4 separate regions of the Homo sapiens genome follow, and all the other regions are linked to region 1. Evidence: promoter capture Hi-C in human tissues and cell types (Jung and others, 2019). All regions are on one chromosome and are shown on one strand. Each heading gives the region's core, a stretch centred on a gene start or on the middle of the fragment in contact. The rest is flanking DNA. Distances are from core to core; before and after follow the strand shown.

Evidence for each region. The method cuts DNA at HindIII sites, captures the fragments that hold promoters and counts their contacts. A contact is called where the count stands out against the background at its distance.
Region 2: a fragment that was not itself captured here is called in contact with the fragment with the promoter of IDNK in region 1 in 1 of the 25 tissues and cell types used here (mesenchymal stem cells).
Region 3: a contact is called between a fragment that was not itself captured here and the fragment with the promoter of IDNK in region 1, in 1 of the 25 tissues and cell types used here (H1 embryonic stem cells).
Region 4: a contact is called between a fragment that was not itself captured here and the fragment with the promoter of IDNK in region 1, in 1 of the 25 tissues and cell types used here (dorsolateral prefrontal cortex).

Annotation. Positions count from the first base shown.
Region 1 is chr9:83,621,655-83,624,445 of GRCh38, reverse strand. IDNK (IDNK gluconokinase) reads right to left here and starts at 1,303. Exons shown (of 5, transcript NM_001001551.4): 1 at 1,225-1,303. The coding sequence starts at 1,274. RefSeq lists enhancers at 699-748, 769-898 and a silencer at 1,079-1,608. The HindIII fragment of the contact is 12,457 bases long and covers 1-2,791 here.
Region 2 is chr9:83,882,443-83,885,326 of GRCh38, reverse strand. It overlaps KIF27 (kinesin family member 27), which reads left to right. Exons shown (of 18, transcript NM_017576.4): 10 at 1,309-1,514. Among named protein-coding and RNA genes, the nearest start is that of KIF27, 38 kb to the left of the region's middle. The HindIII fragment of the contact is 3,526 bases long and covers 1-2,884 here.
Region 3 is chr9:83,251,486-83,254,185 of GRCh38, reverse strand. The region is part of intron 13 of FRMD3 (FERM domain containing 3); the gene reads left to right. All of the region lies in intron 2 of FRMD3-AS1 (FRMD3 antisense RNA 1), which reads right to left. Among named protein-coding and RNA genes, the nearest start is that of FRMD3-AS1, 33 kb to the right of the region's middle. The HindIII fragment of the contact is 7,236 bases long and covers 1-2,700 here.
Region 4 is chr9:83,186,565-83,189,357 of GRCh38, reverse strand. It overlaps a transcript of RASEF not described here. Among named protein-coding and RNA genes, the nearest start is that of FRMD3-AS1, 31 kb to the left of the region's middle. The HindIII fragment of the contact is 4,691 bases long and covers 1-2,793 here.

The DNA.
Region 1 (2,791 bases), core at 54-2,553:
ATTTTATCTGTCCTGTTCGCTATATGACAATGACATAGAGTAAGGATTGAGCTCAATAATTACTGAGTACATGAATATCACAAGCTATACATCATAGGGATTAGGCCTCCCTCATCTGATTCAAGACTCAGAGGGGGTACATGAACTGCCCAGGCTCACACAGCCAGACAGCAACAGAACCAAGACCTAGGGCTCTTCACTCCTGTTACATCACACCATGGCAATGATTTTACATTCTCCAACTGATTCAAATCATATGGCAGCTAGGGATTTGGGGGCTCCATGTTTTATTTCAATTGCAGTTCAAGATTTCTTTTTATCTTTGTGGCTGAGAACCCTACAATAATTTTGGAAAGCAAAACCCATCTACCTGGAGTAAATCTTTAATATACACCTGACTACACAGGCCACAACATGGGCCGTTCCTGATTCAGAAAATTCTAGAAGGGTCCTATAGGCCCTTGAAGGTTATGATGTTTTAGCTGATCAAGTTCTGTCCTTTGCTGCCTGTGGTCGAATGGTACAGCAGCTGTCTTTTCTGATAAAGGGCACAGTTAGACTTTGGTTTAAACAGGAAGCCAAATGTTAACTCCTCAGTCTCCAGGTTAGCACACTGGGCTACCTCTGTGGTTTCCACAATTCTCTTCTTTCTTTCCAAACCCTCAGGAGCCACCCTCCATATTAACGCTGTCTCCTTCCAGGTTAAGCTGATGAAAGGAAGGGGAAAACGATTCACTTTCCAAAATTGAATCGGAGAAGTCCAGGGCCTCATAGGAGGAGGCCGCTGTGTGTCCAGATGGCCAAAGGTCTGTGAGAGCCTGGGCCGTGGTTTGCGTCCTCTCGCTAGAGGCCGTGCGCCCTCCCGCCTGGCCCCGACAAGGCGCCCCGAAACCTAGCCCCGCGCCGCTCGCTAGGCCTCCACCTGCGCGGCCCCGCAGCCGCCTGTTCAGGAGCGGCTTCCTCCCTGAGCCTGCGGTCGCCGCAGCCTCCCCGTCTTAGAGCGGGAACCCGGAGCTCGGATGCGGTCCCAGGATGGGCGCCCCGCGAGCAGGCTGGAGGGCGGGGAGAGGGCGCGGCAGCCGCGGGCCTCGGTTTCTTCATCTGCAAAGGGAAGGGTGGGGGGTCCCCAAGACCCCAGTCCACCGGCAGGGACGGCGACGCGTCCGGCCTCCGCCGCGCCCGCAACACTTGTCCCGGGCGCCCCCCGCCCTCTCCCGGACCTACTTCCCCGAGCCGCTCACGCCCATCACCAGCAGCGCGCCCGGCGCCGCCATAACCCAAGCTCGGCTCCTTCCCGTCGCCTTCCGGGCCCCGCCGGCCCCGGCCTACCCGGCGCTCGAGGGGCGGAGCCGCTCTCGCCCCGGCCGGGGCAGTGAGGGCCGTGCCCCTCTGCGCCCTCCCCGTTTTCCCGCGCCCCTTTTCCATGCTTTCCTCCTCCCTTTCCCAACCTCCCGGCCTCTCTCTCCTGCCCCTTCTTTTCCTCTCCCCTCCCCTCCCTCTTTCCTCTTCCCGGAAGTGAAGCGCGCGCCCGGCCTGGCACTCGCGTCTCCCTGGGCTGGAGGGAGCCGCCCAAAGCCCCGCCACCTGTCGTTCTACTGCCCCGGCCCCTCTTGGTTCCAGAGGATCCTCACCCTGGCAGGCCGGATCCTCATCCACCCATGGAAAGCATTCATTCATTCATTTATAAAAATGTTCTTGTAAAAAGAATAAACAGAAAATAAGACTCATAATTTCCCACACCAGGCAGCAATAAGCAGCACTTCCTAAAACGACTCCCCTTTCCCCGCGCCCCGTCGTAGATAGATGGGTATGAGTATTTTGTAAAACTGGGATCAGGCCGTACACAGCGTTTTGTAATCTGGCCTTTTGTCACAATAATAAATGGCGGCCATCTTTTGGTGTCAAACTTAGGGTTGAGTGTTGACCGTAGCAGCATATGTCTTGGCTGTATGGCTCTGCTGTTAAATCCAGCACTGGTTGGGGCTTTAAGAGGAAGGAGCACCACTTTAAAGTGTCCATTTGCTTTAAAACAATGTTAATTATGTGTCGTTTGAACTATTTGATTAAAAGCACTTCTTTTTTTTTTTGAGACGGAGTCTCGCTCTGTCGCCCAGGTGGGACTGCGGACTGCAGTGGCGCAATCTCGGCTCACTGCAAGCTCCGCTTCCCGGGTTCACGCCATTCTCCTGCCTCAGCCTCCCGAGTAGCTGGGACTACAGGCGCCCGCCACCGCGCCCGGCTAATTTTTTTTGTATTTTTAGTAGAGACGGGGTTTCACCTTGTTAGCCAGGATGGTCTCGATCTCCTGACCTCATGATCCACCCGCCTCGGCCTCCCAAAGTGATTAAAAGCACTTCTAACCGCATTTGGCATCACCTCCTTTGGTCTTTTGTTAACCAAGGTAGGTATTACTCTGTGTCCTAGAAAACAATAAAAGTGACATAAAAGCATTTATCTAATGAATAGTTCAATTACCCCTGCACTGCCTTTGTTTTTCATATACTTAGCCCGAGTAGGTGAGATTTCAATCTGGATGGGGGCTGTACAGGTGAAGAAATTGAGGCTTGGAGAGAGGTCTTACAATTCAGTTATGGTCAATACACATTTCTTGAACATCTACCATGTGCTGGTTAATATCATATTAATATTCATTTAAAAGATTACCCTCTAGGCATTCTCAAGCTTGATAAGAGGAATAGATGTGTATGCAAATACTCTTAACTCGTGCCCTGCTTCGCTAGCTCAGTATGAAAAAAAAAAGCTCATATTTCTTTCAATGTTCAAATCAGAA
Region 2 (2,884 bases), core at 350-2,849, 260 kb before region 1:
GAGGTCAGGAGTTCGAGACCAGCCTGGCCAACATGGTGAAACCCTGTCTCTACTAAAAATACAAAAATTAGCTGGGCATGGTGGCGTGTGCCTGTAATCCCAGCTACTCAGGAGGCTGTGGCAGGAGAATTGCTGGAACCCAGGAGGCGGAGGTGGCAGTGAGCTGACATTGTACCACTGCACTCTAGCCTGGGTGACAGAGCGAGGCTCTGTCTAAATAAATAAATAGTATAATAAACTGTCTCTGGTGATTATTCATCCTCTGAGCTTTAGACTCCTGTTTTCTACTGCCACGAGTTTGCCAGTCTAGTTCAGGGACGGTTGCCTATTCAGAGCAAATCAAAACCAAGCTTTTAGGGTCACTAGCTGGATTTAGAATCAAGAGATATAGAAATATCTTTATTCTATTTTTTCTCTTCTATATATTAATAAGAAAAGAATTTAAAAGGAATTAATCTTGAATAAGTTCGGGTTAGTGAAAAAGGAGAGAGTTAGCTTTGGATGAAAAGATTCTTAAGAGACATAACAAATCAAATGTATTGTGGACCTTGTTTAGATCCTGATTTAAATAAACCAATTGTGAGACACATTTTGAGGCAATTGGGGAAGTCTGAATATGGACTGATTGGTGTTAATATTGTTAGTGTGATAATGACTTTTTGGTTATGTCCATATTTTGTGTGAATGCCGATTGCAGTATGTATAAGTAAAAAGAGGAATTTAACAAAATGAAGTATGTATAGGTGAGATGAATGACATTTGGGATTGCTTTATAATATTTAAGCAAAGTAAAACAATAGGCATATTTGAAGCAGCTGTGACAAAATCTTGATAACTTTTAAATCTGGGTGATGGCGGTTCATTTTATTATTTCTTTTGTTGTATTTTAAAATTTTCATAATAATTTAAAAAAGGAATTCAAGCAGACAGATTATTGGTAGCAGGAGGCTGGAGTATACTAAGCAAGAGGACAAACAGTCACTCCAAATATCCTTCTTAACTGAGTTTGATGCCAGCAAAGCTCAACTACAAATTCAGAGGACCAGAGATGTCACTCTAAAACGCCAAACATTGAACCAGTGAGACTGACTGGCAGCAGATGGGAACAGTCATTAAGGAACTAATTATTAAGAGGCCTGATGGCAAGCTGTGTTTGATGGGGGTGGGTGGGGACAACTGGGTTTTTAATGCTATGCCTTAAATAGTATCACTGCCTGGCTGGATTTTAGAGTAGAGTATTTTTATGTTTTGGATGTTTAACTTCTTTTTACATAATTTATACTAATAATAATTATTATTACGGTTAAGGTAATGATGCCAAGTCTGTAAGCAAGCAGTATTCTTTGAAAGTAACAAAGCTAGAGCATGATGCAGAACAGGCAAAAGTCGAACTGATTGAAACACAAAAGCAGCTACAGGAGCTGGAAAACAAAGATCTTTCTGATGTTGCAATGAAGGTAAAATTACAGAAAGAGTTTCGTAAAAAGATGGATGCTGCAAAGCTGAGAGTTCAGGTAATTTAAAAAATGTAATTGAGAAAACTTATTTAAGCTTTCTTGCTTCTGAGGATTCTTGTACTGAGTTAGGAAAGAAGTGGGATTCAGTTTATACCAGCAAGAGAAACTGGGTATCAACTTTTCTTTTGTAGTGTGCTGGTCGATTTACATATTTTACAATCTGGGTAGTATATTTCTTAATTCAAGAAGTATCTTCTTTCAATCATCATATCAAAAAACCACATGGTAAGAAATAAACGTAACCACGAAACAGTGTTTATTTCTGAAGGACAAAGGATTAAATAATGATTAAATAATACAAATAAAACAGCTGGTACATATATGACACTTTGTAGACACTCAACAAATGGGAACTATTTCGAGATATGGTTTTCCCAAACCATAACTGATTGGCTTAAGAAAGGTTAATAACTTTGTGTACTGCAACTCATCCTTAACTTCCTAATGCCTGGTTTTAGCTTTAACTTTAGAAATAGCTACAGTTAAAAATTCTATTCTATGAGAAATATTCCATCACATGGAGATTTTGTGTGATGAAGCCATTTCCAGGTGCTTTGGAGATAGTCACAGTGCTTTGTTAGTCTGATCATAATGAACTTTCTAGGATGTGTCCTCTATTTCTTTATCTCTCATGGTCTACTGCTTTCTTTCATGTTATAGAAACATTTTTATATTTTTCCATTTTAGGTAGAGTTGTAATTAACCTATTCACAGCATTATTATTATTATTATTATTGAACTATGCCACAGTTATTTGCTTTAAACAAAATAGATGTTTACAATATACCTCTGGTGTGCCCGGTATATTGTAATATACCAGTATATTCTGGTGTGACAGGCCTGAAAAGTCCCTCCTGGGGTTTCTGATGCCACCTCAAACATCTGGATATTTCCACTAAAAATTGTTACCTAAATAGTTTCTCAAGTCAACATCAAGTTAAAATAATATGACTTGAATATTTGAACTGCTTAAAGGAGGACATAGGGTGGTTATCTATGTCACACCTTCCATTTTCCTTCAGCATAGTTATTTCCACTTTGGAATTCACCTTTCCATGCTTTGCTTCCTGCTGTATATCCTTTTCTGCTAAGAGTACTGATAAGGAAAGAAAATGAAAGGTGTAGAACTTTACCTCAAAAGAAACATCTGATACAGCAGAGGACAGAAAGAAGACATAGTTTTAGAAATTTTGTACCTTTGACATATCCATGCACTACTCATGGGGATAAGGATGATAAGGAGGATGAGGAGGACAGTAGTTACCATTTGAGGGCCTATACATACCAAATGGTTTATACGCATTATTTAATCCTTTGAAGTGGGCATTTTTAGCCATTTTACAAATGTGGAAAGAAAGGTTTAGAAA
Region 3 (2,700 bases), core at 201-2,700, 370 kb after region 1:
TGCACCCATTAACTTGTCATTTACATTAGGTATATCTCCTAATGCTATCCCTCCCCCTTCCCCCTACCCCATGACAGGCCCCAGTGTGTGATGTTCCCCTTCCTGTGTTCAAGTGTTCTCATTGTTCAATTCCCACCTATGAGTGAGAACATGTGGTGTTTGGTTTTTTGTCCTTGTGATAGTTTGCTGAGAATGATGGTTTCCGGCTTCATCCATGTCCCTACAAAGGACATGAACTCATCATTTTTTATGGCTGCATAGTATTCCATGGTGTATATGTGCCACATTTTCTTAATCCAGTCTATCATTGATGGACATTTGGGTTGGTTCCAAGTCTTTGCCAGTGTGAATAGTGCCACAATAAACATATGTATGCATGTGTCTTTATAGCAGCATGATTTATAATCCTTTGGGTATATACCCAATAATGGGATGGCTGGGTCAAATGGTATTTCTAGTTCTAGATCCTTGAGGAATTGCCACACTGTCTTCCACAATGGTTGAATTAGCTTACAGTCCCACCAACAGTGTCAAAGTGTTCCTATTTCTCCACATCCTCTCCAGCACCTGTTGTTTCCTGACTTTTTAATGATCGCCATTCTAACTGGTGTGAGATGGTATCTCATTGTGGTTTTGATTTGCATTTCTCTGATGGCCAGTGACGATGAGCATTTTTTCATGTGTCTGTTGGCTGCATTAATGTCTTCTTTTGAGAAGTGTCTGTTCATATCTTTTGCCCACTTTTTGATGGGGTTGTTTGTTTTTGAGATCTTTCTAGCTTTTTGATGTGGGCATTATAAATTTCCTGCTTAATGCTGTTTTAGCTGTATCCCAGAGATTCTGGTACATTGTCTCTTTGTTCTCATTAGTTTCAAAGAACTTCTTGATTTCTGCCTTAATTTTATTATTTACCCAAGAGTCATTCAGTAACAGGTTGTTCAATTTCCATGTAGTTGTGTGGTTTTGAATGAATTTCTTAATCTTGAGTTTTAATTTGATTGCACTGTGGGCTGACAGACTGTTACGATTTCAGTTCTTTTGCATTTCTTGGAGAGTGTTTTACTTCCAATTATGTGATCAATTTTAGAGTAAGTCTCATGTGGCAATAAGAATATATCTTCTTTTTAATTTAGGTGGAGATTTCTGTAGATATCTACCATGTCCACTTGATCTGGAGCTGAGTTCAGGTCCTGAATATCTTTGTTAATTTTCTTTCTCCATGATCTATCTAATATTGTCAGTGGAGTGTTAAAGTCTCCCACTATTATTGTGTAGAGTCTAAGTCTCTAAGCACTTGCTTTTGTAGGTCTCATAAAGCACTTGCTTTATGAATCTGGGTGCTCCTGTATTGGGTGCATATATATTTAGGATAGTTAGCTCTTCCTGTTGAACTCTATCATTATGTAATGACCTCCTTTGTCTTTTTTGATCTTTGTTGGTTTAAAGTCTGTTTTGTCAGAATCTAGGATTGCAACCCCTGCTTTTTTTCTGTTTTCCATTTGCTTGGTACATTTTCCTTCATCCCTTTATTTTGAGCCTATGTGTGTCTTTGCACGTGAGATGGGTCTCTTGAAGACAGCATATTGATGGGTCTTGGCTCTTTTCCCAGTTTGCCATTCAGTTTCTTTTACTTGGGGCATTTAGCCCATTTACATTTAAGGTTAGTATTGTTATGTGTGAATTTGATCCTGTCATGATGCTAGTTGGTTATTTTGCAGACTTGTTTATATGGTTGGTTCACAGTATCACCAGTCTGTGTAGTTCAGTGTGTTTTTGTAGTGGCTGGAAATGGTTTTTCCTTTCCATATTTAGTACTTCCTTCAGGAGCTCTTGCAAGGCTGGTACAGTGGTGACAAATTCCCTCAGCATTTGCTTTTCTAAAAAGAATCTTGTTTTTCCTTCACTTATGAAGCTTAGTTTGGCCAAAGATGAAATTCTGGGTTGGAAGTTCTTTTCTTTAAGAATGTTGAATATTGGCCCCCAATCTCTTCTTGCTTGTAGGGTTTCTGCTGAGCTGCTGTTAGTCTGATGAGTTTCCCTTTGTAGATGACCTGGCCTTTCTCTCTGGTTGCCCTTAACATTTCTTCTTTCATTTCGAACTTGGAGAATCTGATGATTATATGTCTTGGGGATGATCTTCTTGTGGAGTAATGTACTGGGGTTCTCTGCATTTCCTGAGTTTGAATGGTGGCAGGTCTTGCTAGGTTGGGGAAGTTCTCCTGGATGATATCCTGAAGTATATTTTCTAACTTGGTTCCATTCTTCCTGTATCTTTCAGTTACCTCAGTCAGAATCAGGGATAGGTTCAGGCTCTTCACATAATCGCATATTTCTCAGAGGTTTTGTTCATTATTTTTTATTCCTTTTACTCTATTCTTGTCTGCCTGTCTTATTTCAGAAAGATAGTCTTCAAGCTCTAAGATTCTTTGCTCAACTTGGTCTATTCTGCTACTGATACTTGTGATTTCATTGTGAAGTTCTCGTGTTGTGTTTTTCAGCTCCATCAGGTCCATTATGTTCCTCTCTAACCTGGCTATTCTGGCTATCAGCCCCTGTATTGTATCATTGTGAGTCTTACCTTCTTTGCATTGGGTTAGAACATACTCCTTTAGCTCAGTGATGTTCGTTATTACCCACCTTCTGAAGCCTACTTCTGTCAATTCATCCATCTCAGCCTTAGCCCAGTTCTGTGCCCTTGCT
Region 4 (2,793 bases), core at 109-2,608, 440 kb after region 1:
GACTCACAGTGCAGCATGGCTGGGGAGACCTCAGGAAACTTAGAATCATTGCAGAAGTGGAAGCAAATACATCCTTCTTCACATGGCAGCAGCAAGAAGTGCCGAGCAAAAGTGGGGAAAGCCCCTTATAAAACCCTCAGATGTCATTAGAACTCACTCACTGTCATGAGAACAGCATGGGGGTAACTGCCCCCATGATTCAATTACCTGCCACTGGGCCCCTCCCACGACATGTGGGGATTATGGGAACTACAATTCAAGATGAGATTTGGTTGGGGACGCAGCCAACCCGTATCAGCTGGTGACAAAGATGCTTTGACCAATTCAAAGGTCTTGTCCAGCACCAGTAGCTGAGGCTGCCTCCCCTCATGTGGGCTGGGCTATGGCTGGGGGACATAGTCAAACAGGGAGCCACAGAACTGTGGCTGGGGTCTCTCCTTGCCAGACATAGTAATATTTGTGGACAGTACCACACCACAGACAGATATGGAAGACCTTGAGCTGTGGTTGACTAATACCAATAAGATGGCACAGAGTAGTGAACTCAAGGGGTTTAAAAATCTTAAGTTAGGCTTCTCTATTGATGTTTTTCATTTTGGTTTCCAAACGCTGGGATGTGGACTCTGTGTTGTGGGTGAGCTGGGCTGCGGTAGGTGGAAGGGAGGAAAAGAGATCCTGGTCTCTGTCCGGTATGTGTGTTTTGTGCAAATGCAGTGCATTTCATTTCTTTTCTTTTGGAGATGTGTGATCTTTCCCTGCTGCACTAGCCTTTTAATGGTACATTGTCTCTTGTTCCATTCCAAGCACACAATAGAGATGCCGATTTCTCACAGTGGCTACTACTGCCTGATGAAATATGGATTTGCATATTTTCCCTTCTGTTGCGCAAGGAGCTTGCTCAGGTTGCACAAGTGTGTTATCACTTCCACCAACTTGCAAGTGACAAAAGCCTCTGTAAGCAGACAAAACAATATTTGAAATGAATGAACTATTACTGGGAATATGTTCATATATTGTTGTCAAGTTTGCCTTCTAATTTTTCTTTTGTCTAAAGAAAGTCCTTGGGCAAGTCCATTACACCTTCCTGGCCATTATTATATTAGTTAATACAATCTTGCTATTTATTCATTTGTTCATCAATCCACCTAACCTGTAAATTAGATGCTAGGGGAATATGAGGAGGATGAGTCATTGTCATGTACTTTTATGCTATCAGGGAGACAGACCTAAAATCAATGAATGGAGGCACAAGTATAATGGCAATAATAATAATATTAATAACCATTAGGGGCATTTATTGAGTACTTAGTTATGTGTCAGGCATTACACTCTTTCATGTACTATATCTCATTTATTTATCTCAATAATAATATGAATCAGAACTTTCTCCACCCCCGTCTTGCAGATGAAGGAAGTCAGCCTTGGAGAAGTTAATGATGTGCTTACAGTCTCACGGCTGGTGGATTGTAGAGCTCTCGTGTTGCTGTTACACAGGGGAAAAGCAAAGTATCGAGTAGCTGTGGAAGGAGGAAATAATTCAGGAGGAGGTGGCATTGGTGCCACATTTTGAAGACTGAGTAGCATTTTGAAAAGAGGAGAAATGGAAGGTAGAGGGAAGAAGGGCACCCTCAAGAGATTGAATAGCATGAGGAAAACACAGGGCCATTGTATCAGCTGGAGATTACATTTGGCTAACTGGTTACAGAGACCTGAAATAACAGTGAATTAAACTAGGAAGGATTTTATTTTTCTCTCACATGACATGAAATTCAGATGTAGATTGTCCAGGACTGATTTAATTGACTTAATATCATCATGGAGCCAGTTTCTTCTTTGTTTTTGTTTTGCCATCCTTAGGTCATGACTTTTATCATCAAGGTCACTGTAAAGCTACAAGGTGGCCCCAGTAGCCCCAACCATCATGTCATAGTTCCAGAAAGAAGATTTAAAAAACAAAAGAAAGAAAAAAGCAGGGAAGAGCAAAAGGGCAACTACCATCTGAGTAAACCCCATATTTTTAATTTTTTTTATGTGATGGCAGACAGAAGTGGCCAAAAGAGAAGACAGGAAAATAAAAGTATAGTATACTCACTTGCCCTTAGAGACAAGAGGTGGGGCACGCCAGACAGGACTACATGGGAAAGATACCAGATAGTCAGGAAGCAGAAGACAGGAGAGAGAAGGCTTAGACCAGAGCCTTTATTGGGGTTTACATAGGAAGAGCAAGGCAAAACTGGGTGAACAGTTTAGGGTTTGCTAGTTTGAGTAATCTGAGGGGCTCTAAGCTATGGGCATGGTCTCTAGTTACCTGGTGCCTGGCCCTGGGATGATTTAGGCAGAGGAATATCTTCTCCTGGGGTGTACAGGCCAGATGGAGCAGGCGAGGCTCTGGGTTGGTTAGTTTGCAGATCGTGGGCATGCTGGGGCTGAACCCTTTGCTATCTCTAAGAATTGGCCAAGGTGTTGGTGGGAGGCAGTCTCTTCCCAGCTAGAAATTTTTTTTTAAGATGTCAAAACATCATAATATATTGAAAATAAAAATATATACATATATTCTATTTAAAGATTGTTTTTCCTTAAATTTTAGAGAAAAAATTTTCTTTAAAAAATAAGTCATTTCCCATCCAATGACTTTCTATATCCCACTGGCCACCACTATTTACAAGGTAGGCTAGGAAATACTGGCTTTTTTGTGTGTGAGTCTATTGTCTTCCCCAACATTATGGGGATTCTGTTAGGAAGAAGAGGAGCAGGATACTGGGCACAGCAGTGTTTGCAGCAGGCAGAAGGAGT